Linked DNA regions of Homo sapiens: all the other regions are linked to region 6. Evidence: promoter capture Hi-C in 16 types of primary human blood cells and fetal thymus (Javierre and others, 2016). All regions are on one chromosome and are shown on one strand. The core of a region is centred on a gene start or on the middle of the fragment in contact, and the rest is flanking DNA. Distances in the headings are between cores, read along the strand shown. Region 1 has its middle 6.8 kb from the start of C1QL3. Region 2 overlaps CUBN (cubilin). Region 3 overlaps RSU1 (Ras suppressor protein 1). Region 4 overlaps PTER (phosphotriesterase related). Region 5 overlaps PTER (phosphotriesterase related). Region 6 holds the start of MINDY3 (MINDY lysine 48 deubiquitinase 3). Region 7 overlaps RSU1 (Ras suppressor protein 1).

Region 1 (2,700 bases), core at 70-2,569, 670 kb before region 6:
TAGTTAAACAAATCTAATCATGTATTTAAACTATTAGAACCAGTTCCAAATGTCAGCGGGTCTGCAAGCAACCCTTCGCATCACATATAAGGTCTGACATCCAAGGCCCTAATACATTTTAAACTCCAACTCTTGTGCAAGTTATCTCTCTGTTCTTATCTTTACTTCTTTTGTAAAGAATTGACACTAAGCTGGCTCTTAATCTAACCTCTCTGGCAGAGTTGAAAGAGTGTCCAGTCCTTTAGGGAAAGTGGGTCATAGAAATGCCTAATTTTCAGTCCAGGCTTGTTCACTACATCTAGGTTTCTTAAGTTTATAGAATATTTTGCAAGCTGGGCTATTTGTTCCCAATTCAGCCATTCAAATAAACAAACATGTATTTAGCCCTAGTAAATGTGTCCTTGGTGCCTGGGTGTGGGAGTGAGGGTGGGGTTGGAGACCAGAGATTAAGAGACTTTGTATTTCTCTCAGTAACAGGAAAAAGGATGAGGGTATATGGCAAAAGGAGAATGAGGTAAGTGTTTTCAGGAGGAGACATTCAACGTGCTTGGGAGCATAGGGAAGAAAGATCCAGTGGTTGGCAGCTTGGGGGCTCAGGGTGGAGAGATAGGGGAAGGAGGTGACTTTGCAGCAGGGTCTTGAAAAAGTGATAAGATCAGGAGGAGTGAGATCTGGGCGTGGTAGCTGACGTCTGTAATTGTGGCATTTTGGGAGGTGGAGGTGGGAGTATTGCTTGAGGCCGGGAGCTTGAGACCAGCCTGGGTAACATAGTGAGACCTCATCTCGACAAAAAAACAAAAAAAGAAAAAAAGAAAATGCCTGGTGAGGTGGCAAGTACCTGTGGTTCCAGCGACTTGGGAGGCTGAGATGGGAGGACTGCTTGAACCTGGATGCTGGAGGCTGCAGTGAGCCATGATCACGCCACTGCATTCCAGCCTGGACTGCAAAATGAGACACTGTCTTTAAAAAAAAAAAAAAAAGAGAGAGAGAGAGGGAGGAGGTGGGTTGAAAGAGTTAAGGGGAAGGCAAAATGAGAAATGACAAGGTGATTTAAGGTGTAAATACCCGATAACTGAACAATGGAGTAGAAGAGAGGGCCAGTTATGAAAATGAAACCTGGGAATTTAGAGAAGCTTTGCGCCCATGGTGCAGGGCCTGGCACCAGGGAGTTAGACTTTCTGACAATGTGGACAACAAGGAAGGATATCATTGTTTCTGAGCTGAGTGGGCACAGGCTGTGAGCAGTTGATACAGGAAGATGACCACTGATGCCCTGTGTGACACAGTTTGGAGATGGGAAAGGCTGGAGGAAGGGAAATAGACAGCAAAGTCCACTTCTTTTCTTGCATGTTTTAAATTAAATTGAATTAAACATTACACATTAATGAGAAGATAATAGAATGGATATACCCAGAGAATTCATTCTAACCAGTGCAGTCAAACATCAGATTAAAACATTGGATTAGGGCCTTCTGGCTCTTTCAGAATTTCTGAAGGAAAGCTTGATTGTGTAGTTTAGATTTAGTGCATGATGTTTTAAAAAAATGTTTTATTTTTGAGACAAAGAGGGTCTCAGTTTGTTGCCCAAGCTGGAGTGCAGTGACACCATCACAGCACCAAGCCTGGCTAATTTTTTATTTTATTTTTCATAGAGATGAAGTCTCCCTATGTTGCTCAGGCTGGTCTCAAACTCCTGGACTCAAGTAACCCTCCTGCCTTGGCCTCCCAAAGTGCCGGGATTACAACCATGAGCCACTGTGCTTGGCCCAGTGCATTTTTGCTGAGGACACTTCTCCTAAAATCCCTTTTAATTCGCTCCTAATTTCTTTTCTCTTTTGTGTTCAAGAACTTTTACAAAACTGCCACTGAGGCTGAATGCACCCTCATTCCCGGGGAACATGGGCAGAGGGCCAGTCGGTTGTCTGTTTCATGACAGAACAATGTTCCTATGTACTGGAGCTTTGGACAAAAAGAAACCATCATGGGTACTCAATGTCTGACCCTCATTATGTAGCCATTGAGACCCTCTGCCCACCTACAAAAACAAATTCTTAAGAGTAAATGTAAAAGAAATAATATACGTATGTATAATGGAAGGCATACACACAAATGTAAATACATAATGGATAATGGATATCCTATTGGATAATAGACATGTTCAGGTAATCCCTAAATTTAATCGATAGTTTTAACTTTTTTTCACCCATTGATAACAAAACAAAAACCAACCAGCCAAAGAAACAAATCTTACCTCTGTCCTTGTCCCTGCAAAGTTGCTGGCTTACTGGAATGGTTCAAACACCGCAGCAGCAGGCAACAAAAGGCTAAAACTCCCAGGATCATTAGCATCTTAGAAGTGGCTAGAAAGGGGAGAAACCTCTTAACTGCTGATATGTAATTAGAGGGGCCTGTGTGAAAACATAGATGCCTTTGTGGGTATTGGCAGGTGTAAGGATTTCTACTTGTATCTTGACTAATCCGGGACAAACGAAAACTCCAAATCTCCATTTAAGTAGGACCAGCTTTCACAGACTTTTTCCACTTTCCAGAGCCAGAGATTAAATTATCGATTAATGAATTAAAGCATGAATTGTTACAGCTACTTTCAGTGGGAAACACTGAGGTATACAACTACTTCTATGGAACGTACAGCCACTTGCAATAGGTTACTTTTGTCTTCTCTCTTCTCCTCCTGCAACT
Region 2 (2,863 bases), core at 159-2,658, 980 kb before region 6:
GAATGACTGACAGTGCAGTTAAAGTTCACAGGATACAGCAAAGTTAGACAAGGACCAAGAGCAGGAGACAGTGGGGAAGAGGGGTGGAAGCCCCGAGCAGTTACAGGAGTTTTGCAAGCAGAGACGGGTGGGGTGTTTCAGTAGGTTCCTAAGAACTGCAGATATTAGAGACATTCCTGTGACAGGGAGGCTGCAAATACCCTGACTTTGGTACAACTTGTTTTTACCCAAGAACTGATGGGCATTCGACTGCATTTACTCCAGGCTTTTGAGAGGTGATGAGGGCTGCCCTAGTGTTACAAAGGGGAACCGGTACCTCATGACAGGCCCCGGCTGGCTTGGGGGATGTACAGTGGAACCAAAGGCTCTGATTAGATTTGCTAAGGGGTAGCAAGGGCTGGATCAGGGTGATGGTGGTTGTTAGTCCCATGGAGCTCAGGACAATGGCAAAAGCCCCAGGAGGAGAGATCCAGTGAGCTCTCAAACAGCCTAGATCCTCAGAGCAATGGCACAGGCCTCAGCTAGGAAGTTGCATAAAAGGCGAGGGATCTTATTTTCAGCAGGGAAATGTCTGTGGTTTCAGCAGAAGCTTTGCCTCCCTTCCTCCTGCCCCTCTGGGAAGGTGCAACTTGCATCAATTCCAAGGCCAACGTGAGTCTTCTTGCAGAGCACTTCCAACAGCAGAGCTGGTTTCCATGGCTAAATATTTACACCATGCTTTTATATGCAGTCTAATTTCTGTTATGGCCTGTTCTCTTCTAAGACTAAATCTAACATGATTTGGCTCCCATTTCATTTCAGGGTCACGGAAATTCAAGATTTCAGTTCTGTGGCAGAAATGCTTCGGCTGTGCCAGTGTTTTATTCTTCTATGAGTACTGCAATGGTCATTTTCAAATCTGGAGTTGTAAACAGAAACTCTAGAATGAGTTTCACCTATCAGATTGCAGGTGAGGCCAGGAACTTCATCTTTTATTCAAAAAAGCTGCCATCATTACCATTATTCGTAGAATAATTACAATTATTTCTAGAATTGACTCCTGTGAGTAAATTAGGATTTGTTAACAAAAACCACATCCCTCTCTTAACTAGAACCCAGCCCAATTTAGCAAATTACTACAGTTGGTTTCTAAAGAGATAAAGAGAATATAATACTATCCAGGATGGTTAGAATGCTAGCATTTTCTTCAAAGTATATGTAGTTGATTTTAAAAATATGCCAATTATCTTATTAATTATACACTTAACCACATTGAATATACATTTTTATTTACAAGAAATATATATGTTTATTTACAAAAGCTTTATCAAAATATAATTCTCATATCATACAATTTACCCATTTAAAGTTTATATTTCAGAGGTTTTTAGTATTTTCACAAAATTGAAAATCTTAGAAAATTATTTTGTAAAAATCAAAAAGCCTTGAAAGAGTTACCTGATTATTATAAGAAGTTTATTTTCACAGAACACTTTATTTAGTACTTATTTTGAATTGACTCAAATGAAAGCTTCCTTTGGTTAAAACAAACGAAAGTACTTTTGGTATTTTTTTACCAAAAAAAAAAAAAAGGTAAATAACGATTTGCCACAAATAACTCAACAATGGATTTAAAATCCTTGTGCAAAACTCTGTCTTGGAGGTAGCATCCTTGTCGAAAAGAGAGTCTGAATGCTACTTCCACCTCAACGTGATCAGAAAAGTTCAAAGGATGCTCGAGTATTCGTCTTTAAAGGAGAAGCCTCCTGTGTCATGCTTCCTGTAGGCGTGTTTGTGTGAACGAGCTGTTGCATTGCACCTGTGTGTGCTGCTTGAGCAATTCACTTCACTGCTCAGGGTCTCAATTATCTCAAAGGTAAACGAAGAAGCTGGATTACTTTTTTCTAAAGTTTATCAAATGCAATGATCTTTTTGAATGATTCCTGTGAAGTTGAAAGAGCACTAAATATTGGAATGCGTACATTAATTATGCCTATTTTTCCTCTAAGATTGCAACAGAGACTATCACAAGGCATTTGGCAACCTGAGAAGCCCTGGATGGCCAGATAACTACGACAATGACAAGGATTGCACCGTTACTCTCACAGCCCCCCAGAACCACACCATTTCCCTCTTTTTTCATTCACTTGGCATCGAGAACTCAGTTGAATGCAGAAACGATTTCTTGGAGGTGATATGCATTTGAATATCGTTTGAATGAATTATTTAAAAGATGGTGGATCACTTAAGATTTTACACCTTTTATCTAGTGCTGCTAATATTATATGATTCTTATTTGTTTCATTAATTTATTCATTACCCTTTCATTCCCTAAACATCTACAGAGCACCAGTCCAAACACCGGAAATTGGGAACCTTAGGGCCCGCAGGAGACTCCTAGTCTGGCAGGAAGGACAGATGGGGTATAGCCAATTACAGCACAATGTGGAAAGGACTAACTGAGTCCAGCATGGGTTGGGGTTCCTAACTCAGTCTGGGAACTAGAAGGCTCAAGAGGGCAATATGTAAGTTGAGACCTAAAAGGATCAGAGGGAAGTCTAAGGACAACATGCTGGTTCTGTAAAATGAAGCTCAATGATACTAAATAGCTCACCTAATTTTCCTGACAGCTACAGTAAGTTTGGGGCATCGTCAACATCCTCTAAAGACAAGTGTTTCCTTGAATAAATGCTCCCTGGTCTCAGGGGGGTGTGGTCTGTCCTTTCTTCACCACAACTCCAGAGCTTGAATTTGGGCACAGAAATGACTTCACTGTTTGCCCATCGTCCACACACCCACCCCCCACTCCCACCCCAGGACACACTGAGAGAGAAGCCCCCTTGTGCCTGGAGCAGGCAGAACCATGCGCCTCGTGGGCCTGAAA
Region 3 (2,700 bases), core at 110-2,609, 840 kb before region 6:
CTCTGTTTTAATAACTGAATAGCATTTCACAGTATGGCTATAGCACATTATTCTGCTTATCACCTGGTAATGAAATTTCCGGTTGTTTACAATGTTTAGTTACTGCCGACACTGTCTATTACAATATGAGCATTTTATAGGCCTTCTGATCATTTTCCACTCAGTAAAGTGTGTTCCTAAAGAAGTGAAAAAGTAGGAACTTTCCAGAGTCGGCCACTTGTCTGTAATCATGCACTGCTATAATTAGTAGCCTAGCACATGATAATGAGAATTATGGAGACTTATGTGTAGAATCTTTGTCTATGTGGGAGAGTCCCTAAATGTAGCTTTTATTTTGTATCGGAGTCATTTGTGGTTAGCTTCCATGTGAGGATTCGCCGCAGAGAAGAGGTGATCTTTCAGCTGTTATTATGTCCCATCTCGATCCTTTCTGAGCAAATCAATTGCTTGGTTTTGGAGAAATCTAGTATAGTAATGATGGGCTATACCCAATCAGCCACTTTTTTTTAGTTTTACCTTGTTAGACCACAATCTTAGATATTTATGAGTGAATGAGAGAGCGTGGCTTTTGGAGTGCATTAATTTTAAAAAGCTCTCTGTGGTACTATTTTGAAATTAGGAAGGGAGGGAATGCTACTTTGATGACGTGAAAAATTTGCCCAGATCGCCTCGATTGCTTACTATGTGATAAATGGTGCCGCTAGCCACATGTTTCAGGATTTTGAATACTCAGGAAGAATTCTTAGAGTGTGATTATGGAAACAACCAATTTCCATAAGTGAAAATGAGCATGCTTATTAATGGGGCTGCAATTGTCTATTGCATTCAGTCACATTTATAACCAGCAAGGAGAATGAGTGTTTTGCATGATTTAATGTTTACACAATTGCAGTTGCATGGCAAAGCTTGCTGTACTAGAGGCTTTGGAAAGAAGCATATGTGGTCGTTTTGCAGGTAATAAAATGGAAAATCCAATTTGCAATTGCAGAATAAGCCTCTGAGTGATATACGATCTTCATAGCAGCATCGGTCAGAGGGTCACTGCTAATCACGGCGCTGCCTGGCTTCCCCAGTGGCCTGCGCCTTCCAACTGAGGAGTGAGCAAAGTGAATCTGTGTCTGGGAGCCAGCCAGCGTGTCTGTAGATGCACCACTTTCTAGCTTATTAGATCCTCTTTGTCACAGTGCTTAATCCTGCTGCCTGATCCTTGTTAGAACACCACCAGAGCGCCGCTCAGCCTTCTAATAAAGGGGATGGGTGAGGGCTCCTAACTCAACGCACTGAAGCGTGTGGCGTCAGAGCGATTGCAGGCTGACTGACAGCGGGGTGAGATGCTTCCTGCATGTTATTACTTAAAAGGGAACCTACCTCCGACAGCTGACAGACGAGCTCTGCCGAGGCAATGGTAACTTGTTGCTAGGCCAATATGAGTCGGGTGTCATCTTTTCACACAATATAATGGCCAGCTTTACTCTAATTATATTAACCCTCTTCTGAAATTGCTTCATCCCCAACTGGTGCAGAGTGAGGCAAGAGAACCCAGAGACAAATCGCTTGCTGGGAGGGTTGCAGCGCTACAGAAACAGGTATTGTGTTATCCACCGGTGACATTAAGTTGAAAAACAAAACAAGCATGCCCTATTACAGCAAGTCCCAGTTCTAACTCCAAAGAGACATTGCTCTGTTTCGCTCGCGCGGTTTCCATTTCTGTCATTTATAATAGTTTCCTCCTTTAAGGTTTGCCACGGACATTATACCTGGGTTTCATGGCTCTTTGTTAAAAAGAAAGACCAACATCATACAAGAAGCTTTTTTCTTTTCTTTTTTTTCCCCAGGGAACCCTAATCATTCTTTTCTATTAGGCTCTTAAGTTCATGTAGCTTTAGGAAGCACTTGGGGATTTAATTTAGTAGCATTGCTTGATACTGAAGTAAGTAAATGAGGGTGGGGAGGGTAACCCAGTCATCTGTACCCTCCTTGCCACTCCCCATCCCAGCTAAAATATGCAGATGGGTTGGAAGTGATATAAGTGAAGATGATCGTGAATAGCCTGTGGTCCTTTCTGTTAACTCTGACTTGTAGACATCAGCGTGTGACTCCTTTTCCCTTAAGGGAGTATGTCTAGCTTGCATCCAGCGTCTCCTGTGTGCTCCAGTTAGCAGCCATCATTAGCAATCTGTGATGCCTCTGCCGTCTCCACTGACAGCACCTAAATAGAGACATCACTTGGGATTGACAGATCTCCAGGGGGTTACAGGCTTCAGACAAAAGGGCCCAGAGAACATGGCTGACCTTTCTTGGCATTATTCTCCTTCCATGAGTGGCAGTCAGGGAGCATAGAACTTTAGTACATTATTTTCAGAGGATTACCACTGAAAAGACTGCACACTTAGTAAGATGCTGTTAATAAGTTAACAAGAGGCTGTGTGCGTTCCAGAGTGGTTTTGCAGGCCGTCAGTAGTAGAACACGAGTGCTTCTTTCCCGCAGAAATACGTCCCTATTCCTTAAGTTCAAGGAGGGGTCTTTAAAACCAGCTTTACTCATAACATACCTTCAGTTTCGGATGATCGAGCAAGGCTTGGGACTCGGCGGAAGGGAGCTTGTGATGCAGGCTAGAAAAGAGGAGTCTCTTCCCCTCATTATCCCAAGCAAGTCTTCCCAGGGAAAATTTGAAATAGCTGAGACTTGTGTGTGTCATC
Region 4 (2,726 bases), core at 89-2,588, 650 kb before region 6:
CATTAAAGCCTGCAGTCCACTTATTTGCCCTGCTATGCTTTTCCTGTCTATCTGACCATTCCTCTCTATGCTTTCTTCCCTCCAACTTGGATCCCATGACCCTCATCTCAACTCCTCCATTGTTATCCATCTCTTTCAGATAGAATCCCAACCCTCAATCTCTTGAACTGTTCCCATTTTCTGCTTGTACGCACACAACTTCTCTGGTTCCACTACCAAAACGCAAAACAGTTTTGCTTTGGAAAATAATCACCAAATCGTGTGCATTGGTGCCAATACACAGGCATGCAATCATGATTTCTAGACTCAACTAGGTCTCGCACATAACACATCCATGTCAAGATCTCTCTCATTGACCTGACAGCCATTCCTAGCCTTTCTCCTGCTCTACACAGTGCTGCCCTAAATCCACTCTTTTTTTCTCAGGAGATAACCATGTCCACCTCACAGAGACACTAGAGGACATGTGGCCATGTGTCCTCAGTCTCCTGTTTCCCTCACTAAGACTTCTGTTTGCATTCACCCCATCGCTGTGTCATGCCCTCTCATTTCCATGGAGAAAGCATCCTTTCAACCGACTTTCTATTTGTTCCCCAGATTCCATCTATTTGTTGCCTTAGGAACCTTGCTCTATATTTCTTATCTATCCAGAGTTTTTAAAGTCAACATCTATTGAACACTTCCATATTCTGCACCAGACACTCAGACAAAAACTTGGAAAACATTATTTCATGTCAATTCTATAGTAACCCTGTGGAATGGGCACCACTTCCCTGGACTCATTCTCTCTGGCTCTGTCTCTGCTTTTGCTCTTAAGTCACATAAACATTGCTCAACTCTTACTAGAAGCTTCCCTTGATCCTTTATTGACTTGTAACTCCAGACCCATCTCCTTGCTTCCCTCCACTGCCACGCTTCTTGAAAGAGTCACCTCAACATCCTCTCTCCTCTTCCTCACGGCCCACCCATTTCTCAAGCCTTTTCCACTGAGATTGCACTCTGTTTATAAAATGTGAGCCTCCTAATTGTGAAATCCAATGGATGCTTTTCAGTCTTTATTTCCCTTGATATTTGTCACTTATTACCGGCATTCAAGCCCTTCTGCCCTGAGACTTCCTCTCTACTGACTTCCATAAGAATATATATCTCTCATGTTATCACTTTGAAAACTTCTCCTCGACCTTTCCTTGAGAAACGGTTCCTACTCCATTCCTTAAATGTCTCTGTCCCCAGGTCTCTGTCCTCATCTTCTTCTCTGAGTGATGTCATTCATTCCCACGGTTCAACTATCACATACAAACCATATCTTAGGGCTTCACTGGGTAGCAACACTTAGATATTCCCAAACGAAAGCCTTCCTTGTCAATCTCCAATTTATTTCTCCTCCTAGGTATTCTAACTTGGTTCATTCAATCTTCTTATCACCATGTGACCAAGACCAAACTAGGTAGCTATCATTGACGCCTAAAATTTTCTACTTGATTACAAAGAATGACTCCTACAATTATCTGCCAGCATCACACATTATACAGTTTTGGAAGGTTGCATTCATTTTACATAATATTTAGTCTTTAGACCTTATACTTTTAGCATTTAACTTGAAATCACCTTTTTAATGAAAACTTTTGATAAAGCATTTCAAATATTACTTGTAGGAAGTTATGGCTTTAGTGTGGTCAACCTGAGAGAGGAACAGCTTATTTCATTAGGGGTAAATAGAGGAAAATGTCTTTTGTTCTCTGATTTTCATGGCAGGGGTTGGGTATTATCTGTGTTTCCTGTCAGCTGCCCATCTGCACTGAACTTCTAAGGCTCTGCTAAGCTTTAGCCTACTTAGGATGACTCATTTTCTCCTTAAAATAATATAGAGAGATTTTTCTCCCTGAAACAGCATAGATATATTTTTCTCTGCAAGTCTGTGGTTCGGCCTGCTTACTGTTTTCTGAATCTTTGCTAATACTTCCCTAGATATGACAATCAAAAAGGGCTAGGGAAAGGGAATGCTATGAGAGGCTTTACCATATTTACCTTCTAATTCTTTTGTTATCATCAGGCATGTCAATATCTGGGCCGAGTTGGTAATGAAGTAGTTCAGTACCAAAGAGATCATATTCCAAGTAGCAGCCAAGTTGAGCAAACTCCAAGAGCTCTTTCTTATCAAGAATAGTCCTAGAAACAATGCGACAGATGAACTGTTATTATGAAGAGCCCATTTTCCACATGTACATACTAGAAGTTTTAAGCACACAATGTACAAGAACAAGAACATAGTTGAAGTCGAGTAACAGACACTTCTGAAATGGCTCTTAATGATGTGAGTATAAAACAGTAAGTTCAATTTGTTACTAGAAATAACAGAACTTACTCATCTAAAAAGGAGTTTTCCCCTCTAAAGTACTTGGGTACTACAGACTTAGTTTAATGATGCTTCCATTATTCCAGAGCAAGTTTGGAATTCTCCCTCAGAACTGTGTTCAGAAGATGCCCCCACACTATTTTGAGAATCCTTAATGGGGTAAATTTTCATCCTCTAAAGACTGCTATGAACTGTGAAAACTATTAAAGGAAATCTGGCCTCAGGTCTGGTGAATTAGGTGAGTAATGCTAATCTGGGTAACACATGAGGCTTTGCCTTGTGGTAGCAGGGTGATTTTCTTGTGAAGATTGTAAAGTGGTTCTAAAATTAATTCTAAAGCCTTTAAAGAATATCATTCCCACATTTTCTT
Region 5 (2,765 bases), core at 172-2,671, 610 kb before region 6:
GAGTTATGAACTCAAGAGCTATTTCAAATTCTTTATTATCACAAAGTTGCTAATTGCCTGTCTTGCCTGAGACTTGATATTGTTCCTGCGCAATATTTCAGATCAAATTACATGCCTTTCTAGTGCTATGGTTCATTTTAATTCAATTCAAGCTGTTTGAGGTAGTCCATCGCCGACTGATTTTGACTTTGGTGGAAGTCTTGAAGCCCAGTGACAATTCTAGAAAAAGCTCCATGGCCTGAATAATTCGTATCACAGTTAAGCCAGACCAGGAACAAGATCTCATCTGAACACACTCATATGAGGGGTTAGCAGCGGAAATGGAGGCGGGGGTGTTGTGAAGGGAAGTTCTTAATCATAAATTAGGAAGTGTCAGTCATCATTTTTAAGTTAAAAAAAAAAGAATCAAGAACAATAAATTGTAAGTAAAGATAAACCATAAAAATAGAACCATAGAAAGAAACCTTTTTAAAGAACAGAACCATAAGAAGAATTTTTTTTGTTTTTTTTGAGATGGAGCCTTGCTCTGTCACCCAGGCTGGAGTGGAGTGGCACAATCTTGGCTCACTGCAACCTCCACCTTCCAGATTCAAGTGATTCTCCTGCCTCAGCCTCCCAAGTAGCTGGGATTACGGGCACCCGCCACCACACCCAGCTAAGTTTTGTATTTTTAGTAGACATGGGGTTTCACTCTGTTGGCCAGGCTGGTCTTGAACTCCTGACCTCAAGTGATCTGCCTGCCTCGATCTCCCAAAGTGCTGGGATTACAGGCGTGAGCCACCGCTCCCTCCCAAGAAACCCTTTTAATGGAGGGCGAAAAGCCTCAACAGGATGAAATAAAAAGTTACTATGGATTTGATAAATATGTATTAAGCAGTTAATAAGTGTAAGATGTTATTCGAGGCAGGTAAGGTCTATGGGAGATACAAAGATAGATAAGAGTCCTGTGGCCTCACTTGGAGGCTGGGAACCAACAATAATGCCTTTTGTTCATTGACTAAGCTTCTACTATGTGTTGCTTAAAGCACTTTACATCTCTTATCTCAAATTTTCACGAATGCATTGCTGGCTTGATATTCTATGAGGAAAGTAAGGCCAAGAAAAGTTAAGAAACTTGCCCCTGGACTGAAAGGCTGCAATTCCAACCTAAGTCTGCTTAGAGAATGCCAAATATTGACTATGAACAGCACTTCATACACAGTTCTGCTAAGATTAATTAGACTAGTTTAGCCGACAATAACAATAGATAGCAACCTTATTGTAAAATTACCATGTGCCAAGCCCAGCACTCGGTAATTTACATGACATTTCTATATTTTTCACATTCTCTCTGATGCAACATCTACAAATGCTCTTATTTAAATTAAAAAAAAAAACAAAAAAACAAACAAAAAAAACAGCCAGGCACGGTGGCTCATGCTATAACCCCAGCACCACTTTGGGAGGCTGAGGCAGGAGGACTGCTTGAGCCCAGGAGTTCGCAATCAGCTTGGGCAACAAAGTGAGACCTCATCTCTAGAAAAACAAATCCCAAAATTAGTCAGCCATGGTGACATGCACCTGTGGTCCCACCTACACAGGAGGCTGAGGCAGAAGGATCACTTGAGCCTGGACTCGAGGCTATGAGCCAAGTTCATGCTCTCAGAAACAAACAAACAAACAACAGAATGAACTCAGATTTCATCCAAGACTCCTGCCTCACCCACACCCACTCAGTTTCTAAATCCCGTAAATTCCACCACTTTAATAGCTCTTTGATTCCTTTTCCCCTTCATTCTCACAGTCACGATCTTAGTAGGAACCACCATCATCTCACAGATGGATTCCAGTAAAAGCTTCTCAGAAGTCTCTCTGGCTTTGCAATCCACCTTAGGAAGCCTATACAGCGCTCTTTCTAAATCGCAGACAAGAATGTGTCTCTCCCTGAGTCTTCTTCTAATCTTAAAAAACAAATCTGAACATAGAGCCTGATAGTACCCTATGAACCCACTCTGCACTCACCTGCCCTTTCCTGGACTTTTTATCTTCTCCCCTGTCGCAAGGTCTCTGAGCAGGTTTCTGCCTCTTTGCTCTCAGCTTGCAAATCCAGCCCACTCCCACTCTGCCTCCCTAACCCTTTCCCAGTCCTGGCCAACTTCTACTCGGCCTTCAGCACTCTTCCTAACTAGAAGATTGTCCTGTGGTTCCTCCTTGTTGCTCAAGCAATACAGGTAAGATGTCAATTCTAGGTACTCTCATAGCACCTCAATTTCACCTTAATAATGCACTTCTTCTGATTTTTGTTTTTTGGCTTTTTTTTTTAAGAGACAGGGTCTCACTCTGTCACCCAGGCTGGGGTACAGGGGTATGATCGTAGCTCATTGCAGCCTCAAACTCCTGGGCTCAAGAGATCCTCCCACCTCAGCCTCCTGAGTAGTTGGGACTACAAGTGCACGTTGCCACACCCAATTATTTTTTTTATTTTCTATAGAGAAAGGGGTCTCCCTGTGTTGCCCAGGCTGGTTTTGAACTCCTGGACTCAAGGGATCCTCCCACCTTGGCCCCCAAAGTAATGGGATTATAGGCATGAGCCATTGCACCTAGCTACCTTCTTCTGTTTTATGTCTTTTCCATCAGACTTTGAGCTCGTTGCGGTGAGTCACATCTTTGCCTCTCAGTCCTCAGTTCCCTGCAGTGCCTGGTACACAGTATGTATTTAGCGAACATCTAGATGCTTGCTTGTTTTAGTCCCGCTTTATCCACAAAGGGTTTGAGGAGACTCGCAC
Region 6 (2,750 bases), core at 249-2,748:
ATGCACACTCTGACATGAAGGATAGGTAAGATTTGATTTGCAAAAACAAGGCAAGGGATATTCTAAAGGGAATAAAGATCAAAAGGAATGCTATGGCTCTACTACAGGCACTTTGGGCAAGTCCCTGTAATTACAGTAAAGGGTACTGAAGAAATAAAATTAAATTAATTAAAATAAAATTAGAAATAACGTATAAATAGGAAAAAATAGCTAGTAATAAAGCATAAATTAACAAAACCTTATTTGCAATCTAAAAGATTTTAAATTAAGGGTTAATTTTAATTAGCCAAATGCAAGGGTATTCTACAATGAAACTGCATGTTTTTGAAATTAGAGAACATAACGTATTATACTAAAATACAACTGGCTAGAATTTATGGGTAAAAAAGTCAGAACTACTGTTGCATCAAATTCCCACAAAATGGCTTCTTGAGGTAAAAAAAATACCCACTGTTGCATAAATGCCTTCCATGTGCTAGGAAGTACACCAAATCCTTTGTATGTGTTACTTTTTCCATTTATTCCTTACAATATATGAAATGTATGCAATCTCCCTTTTAGAAAGAAAAAAGCCTAGGTAGATAGTAGGTAACTTGCTAGTAAGTGCAAAAGGTAGGAATATGGGCCAGTATGACCCACAGCTTGGCCTCTTAACTATTGCATTACTGCATCCCAAAGTAATATGGTTTCCAAGGAGTACAGAAACCTTACAGAACCAAAATAAAAGCATGTATTTTTTTTTAAATCAGATTTTGCCCTTTCGTTTTAAATTCAAAGCTCGGGCAATACAAGCCCTCTTTTTTTAAGCAGCACAAACATAAGTTTTCACATGAACTCAATTTAACTGCTAGTTAATGAGTAAAACCTAAACTTTAGTCCAGGTGTTGCCCACACACTCTGCAGTGTCAAAAACTGGAGATGAAAATGCTGTAACATTTACAAACAGGTTGCTCTGAATTTGTTTCCCTACAAATACCTTGTAATTCTGCGTTGCAGCTGGTGGAAGCATTTCTAATGCACATTATGCCACATTCTTTGCCATGTTTTTAGGTAATAGTTGGTCTGACTTTGATTTATTGAAGTACAGAGGCGGACAGCCTCCAGCTTATGAGAAGCGCCCTACAAAGGCACGGATGTTACCGCACTGTGACTCAACTATTGCCTTATAGTTCTAGTTTTGCAAAATTAATATTGAAAAATACAAGCAATGGGCATATGTTCTAATTCCTAGTGCCTGGGCCTCAGAGCCTCCAGCTTAGCCCAGAGCAGTGCGTAGAGGAAGAAGGTATTCCTGGAGTTTAGAAACACGCCGACGCCCCTTCCCAATACAAAAACTACCACCCCACCAAAGGGTCCCAGACAGTTCAGAAAGGTCAGAAGCTACTTCCACCGCTTTCCGTGCCTGTTTCCGCCTCCAATTTCACTTCCGGGGAGGGGACTTCCGGGCCCTCAGCCTTAAGGGGCGGGAGTTAAAGAGGAGTCGGAAGTGGCACCAGCACTTCCGGTACGGAAAACTCGCTGCTGCCCCAACCTGGCTTGACAGGCTTGGTCTCTGCAAGTGGCTCTCAGCCCCTTCTTCTTTCCTGCCTCACCTTCCAATTCGTTTGCCGCCGCCGTCCCGCAGCTGCTGTTTCCGGAGTTGCCCCTTCCCCATGTTCCGGGGCAGGAGTCCGCAAAGCGAAGATCCGCCCGCCGGTTCCTCATCATGTCCGAACTGACTAAAGAGCTGATGGAGCTGGTGTGGGGCACCAAGAGCAGCCCCGGTCTCTCGGACACCATTTTCTGCCGCTGGACGCAAGGTACCCTGGCGGGGCTCTCACACTTGCAGCCGCTGCTTCTTTTGCCCTGCGAGAGTCCGCCTGTGACGCCTCTCGCTCCAGCCCCTCGCGTGCCCCGCTCTCTGCCCCAGTCGCCGTGCTCAGCGCTGAAGCTGGACTTTCTAGACACGCCCTGCCTTGCCTTGGTGGGGAGAGTTTGAGTAGGAGAATGGTTACAGCTGCCACTAAATACCCGCAGCGCTCTTTCCATCCTCCGGGCTGCCCTTCGGCTGGGGAGGAGGAGAGGGTGGCCCCTTGCTGGGTTGCAGGGCGTGACACGGAAGATGCGCCCCGTGCCCCGGTGTCACTTTCTCAAGGGGTGCTGTGGCCTTCCGCATCTTTACCCCCTAACAGAGCTGTCTATTGGTGGTGGTTGGTCTATTTTTGGTGAGAAGGAGGGACGTCCAAGGGAAAGTCCAAGTGGCTAATTCCAAAAAGCAGTTTTTTGTTTGTATTGTCATTATGTGGTTAGGCGTGGTAGTCTGTGTATAAACACTGTTATTTGCTAAAAAGTGTACTCTTGGCCCAAAGTATCCCCGTTTTTTATATGGTTTATTATCTGTCACGGTTAAAAAAGGAATATGGATCATAGTACTTCCTCGGCCGGTATGCTTGTAACCCAGACAGGACTTTTACTTACATGAAGAGTCTTAGTACAAATAATAATGAAATAAAATAAGCATTTATTGAATTCTTGCACTGTAACAGGCTGGGCGCTTTATACTAGTAACTATCCCTAATTCTTAAGTTTGGATAGGCAAACAACTGACACATTCCTAAAGGTGACTTAGGAAAGATGATGATGAGGTTAAAACATAACCTTGAGTCAGAAGGATCAATAATTTATGTATGTAAAACACTATTATTATTAAAACATCTATTTAGGGAACACCTGTTCCCGAAATAGATTGGGCGGAATTTTGGCATAGTAAA
Region 7 (2,798 bases), core at 176-2,675, 880 kb before region 6:
ATGTAGGCAAGGAGAGCTCTCTGGCCTCTTTTTAAAGATGATGGGACCAAGGGAGATTGTGACTTGCCTAAGGCCACGTTATTGACATGGCTTATTATAGACAGAATCCAGTTTTTAGTTCAGATCTTCCTAATTCAAAAATAAGCATTCCTCCCAATGGTATACCCATCAATGTGTCAAAACTGAGCCAATAAAAAGGCCTAATTTATTATTAGGTGACAGATTGCTGTGGTTCCAAATATATGCCTTAATTTTATTTGAAAAAGAAAATGTTGGGAATAGAATATTTGTACCCAACTTTGAATTTTGACTTGGATTTTATTGCATGCTCCTACGTTTTAATTCTGCATTAATATTTCTTTTGCCATACTTCACAAAAAATCATACCATATCCTTTGATTCCCCTGGCCTTCACTGATAATCAAAAATGACTCCCGTCAAGTCTCCTACATGATATTTTTTAACAAGTTCCATTTTATATATTCTATTTCAGTGAAATCTTTAGCCCCAGAAAATGTTTTCAGCATGGATTTTTAAAATGCTAAGTGAATTGTATTTCTGCCTGGTGAGTTATTGCCTTAAAGGGGTTGGGAAGTTGCAACACATAAAGCGTTTCCGTTTTGTAGTATAAATTTCAGGAAGCCCAGTGTCAGGTTCAGCGTGATTGAACATGTGCATCAATCTGTGTTAACACCAGCTGGAAAAGCTTGCCACTGTGTGCAGTGGACTTCCTTTGATTTAATAGGATGCTAAATGTATTTTGCCCTGGGAGAAATGCCGGCAGTGCTAACGTTCCGGATTTAATTTTTTTTTTTTTTAAATTCCAGAGGCATGTCTCTAAATACAGTTGTTATCACCTCAATACATATATAATATCTTACATTTATGTAGCCTCTCCCTTTGAGGCATCTCCTATATATTATAGTGTTCCTATGTTAAAAGAAAAAAAAAGCAAGGTTATACTGAGTCAGACCCAAATGGTATTGCATGCGTGTGTGAGTGTGAGAGTTTCTTTCAGAGTGCAGTGGGAGTTTGAAAGGAGTGAAGTGGGTGACAGTTGTCCCTCATGTTGTCAACACCTGAAATCTAGGCCTTACCGTGACATCATGGATCAGTCTTTCATATTTATATTTAGACCTTTCCAGAATTCTTCACATTTTCAACTGAGTATTAATTCCCTAAGTTGACTACCCATTACACAAAAGCATCTAATTGTACCATTTATACTCCTGTGAAGTTTTGGGTGATAGCATTCTAATATTAGTAAATAAGCTTATGCTCATTTTTTCAACATACGTAGAGTGATTTTAACACGCCTAGTACTCTCTGTTGCCTTTTATATTTGCTGTTTTAAAAATATCGGCTCTTCTCCTTGGACAGCCCCTATTGAATCCATCTTAACCATACCAGAATCTGACTTCCAACCCCATATACATTATATTTCTGTAATCAGTTCAGTTTGGGGAGCACTGGTTAAATGAAACATACATAACCCTTACCTTCATGAAGAAAATCTTTGAAAGAAAGAAACAGCTGCACAAATAAACATTACAAAATGGCTGCTAGAATGTAAGCTTCCCCAAGACATTGGTTTAAGCCACCCTCATCTCTCACCTGGGTTGCTAGAGTAACCTTTCAACTGGTTTCCTGCTTCCTACCTTCCCTTTACAATCCATTCTTCACCCCGTAGTCAAGGTGATCTTAGAAAATTACAGAGTGGATTGTATGCCTTTGTCAATTAGAGCTCTTTAATGTTCCCTAGGAATATTTAAGGCCCATCTGGCACCCATGGTTTCCATGCTACTTATCACCCTCACTCACTCATGAGCCGCTGTCAATAACCTCCTCTCACTTTTTCATGATCTTTGCTCTCTCCTTGGAATTTTCACCTGAATATTTTTGCAGCTCATACCACACAATTCATACATTCTAAGTGTACAATTCAGTGTTTTTTAGTATGTTCAGAGTTGTACAACCATTACCACAACTTTAGAACATCGTTTGTTACCTCAAAATGAAATGCCATACCCTTTTCTTTCCCACTCCAATCCGTCCATCTCTCCTAGCCCTAAGGGTTTTATAGTTTGGCTCTTACATTTATATCTTTGATCCATTTTGAGTTAATTTTTGTATGTGATATGAGCTAAGGATTCAGTTTTATTCTTTTGCCTGTGGCTGTCCTGTTGTTCCAGCACCATGTGTAGAAAAGACTGTTCTCTTTTTATCAAATGGTCTTGGCACTCTTGTCAACAACCAATTGACAGCAGATATATAGTTTTATTTTTGTACTTTCAATGCTATTTCACTTATTTATATGTCTATCCTTATGCGAGTACCACACTATCTTTAGTACTGTTGCTTTGTAGTAAGTTTTTAAATTGGGGCATGTTAGTTTCAACTTTGTTATTCTTTTTCAAGATTGTTTTAGCTATTTTGAGGCCTGTGAGTTTCCAAATGAATTTTAGAATCAGCTTGTTAATTTATACAAAGAAGCCAACTTGTGTTTTGGTAGAAATTGCACCGAATTTGTAGATTATTTCAGGGATTATCATAATCTCAACAATATGAAGGCTTCAGTTCAGATCCATGAACATGGGATATTTTTTCCATTTATTTAGATCTTCGATTTCTTTCAGTAATGTTTTGTAGATTTCAGAGTTTTTGATACTTTTGCTAAATTTTTTCCTAAGCATTTTATTACTTTTGTTGCTATTATATATGAAATTATTTTCTTAATTTTACTTTTGGGTTGTTGGTTGCTAGTATGTGGGAAGACAGTGGATACTGTATTGATTTTA

The links. Contacts are between HindIII fragments. The CHiCAGO score rates a contact against its expected background, and 5 or more counts as called.
Region 1: a contact is called between a fragment that was not itself captured here and the fragment with the promoter of MINDY3 in region 6, in 1 of 17 cell types (M1 macrophages). The highest score is 5.1, in M1 macrophages.
Region 2: a contact is called between a fragment that was not itself captured here and the fragment with the promoter of MINDY3 in region 6, in 4 of 17 cell types (total B cells, M1 macrophages, naive CD4 T cells and 1 more). The highest score is 9.2, in total B cells.
Region 3: a contact is called between a fragment that was not itself captured here and the fragment with the promoter of MINDY3 in region 6, in 1 of 17 cell types (M2 macrophages). The highest score is 5.7, in M2 macrophages.
Region 4: a fragment that was not itself captured here is called in contact with the fragment with the promoter of MINDY3 in region 6 in 4 of 17 cell types (M0 macrophages, M2 macrophages, endothelial precursors and 1 more); the score reaches 7.8 in M0 macrophages.
Region 5: a fragment that was not itself captured here is called in contact with the fragment with the promoter of MINDY3 in region 6 in 3 of 17 cell types (M1 macrophages, M2 macrophages and M0 macrophages); the score reaches 6.4 in M1 macrophages.
Region 7: a fragment that was not itself captured here is called in contact with the fragment with the promoter of MINDY3 in region 6 in 4 of 17 cell types (M0 macrophages, M2 macrophages, M1 macrophages and 1 more); the score reaches 8.3 in M0 macrophages.

The regions. Positions count from the first base shown.
Region 1 is chr10:16,527,303-16,530,002 of GRCh38, reverse strand. No RefSeq gene overlaps it. Among named protein-coding and RNA genes, the nearest start is that of C1QL3, 6.8 kb to the right of the region's middle. The HindIII fragment of the contact is 368 bases long and covers 1,136-1,503 here.
Region 2 is chr10:16,834,321-16,837,183 of GRCh38, reverse strand. CUBN (cubilin) reads left to right here. Exons shown (of 67, transcript NM_001081.4): 63 at 802-949; 64 at 1,989-2,170. Among named protein-coding and RNA genes, the nearest start is that of RSU1, 18 kb to the right of the region's middle. The HindIII fragment of the contact is 209 bases long and covers 1,304-1,512 here.
Region 3 is chr10:16,698,152-16,700,851 of GRCh38, reverse strand. The region is part of intron 7 of RSU1 (Ras suppressor protein 1); the gene reads left to right. Among named protein-coding and RNA genes, the nearest start is that of RSU1, 120 kb to the left of the region's middle. The HindIII fragment of the contact is 903 bases long and covers 908-1,810 here.
Region 4 is chr10:16,504,463-16,507,188 of GRCh38, reverse strand. It overlaps PTER (phosphotriesterase related), which reads right to left. Exons shown (of 5, transcript NM_001261836.2): 4 at 2,029-2,169. Among named protein-coding and RNA genes, the nearest start is that of C1QL3, 16 kb to the left of the region's middle. The HindIII fragment of the contact is 973 bases long and covers 852-1,824 here.
Region 5 is chr10:16,468,513-16,471,277 of GRCh38, reverse strand. The region is part of intron 1 of PTER (phosphotriesterase related); the gene reads right to left. Among named protein-coding and RNA genes, the nearest start is that of PTER, 33 kb to the right of the region's middle. The HindIII fragment of the contact is 833 bases long and covers 1,005-1,837 here.
Region 6 is chr10:15,859,255-15,862,004 of GRCh38, reverse strand. MINDY3 (MINDY lysine 48 deubiquitinase 3) reads left to right here and starts at 1,498. Exons shown (of 15, transcript NM_024948.4): 1 at 1,498-1,799. The coding sequence starts at 1,706. RefSeq lists an enhancer at 1,707-1,756. The HindIII fragment of the contact is 10,196 bases long and covers 1-2,750 here.
Region 7 is chr10:16,740,631-16,743,428 of GRCh38, reverse strand. The region is part of intron 7 of RSU1 (Ras suppressor protein 1); the gene reads left to right. Among named protein-coding and RNA genes, the nearest start is that of RSU1, 75 kb to the left of the region's middle. The HindIII fragment of the contact is 302 bases long and covers 1,275-1,576 here.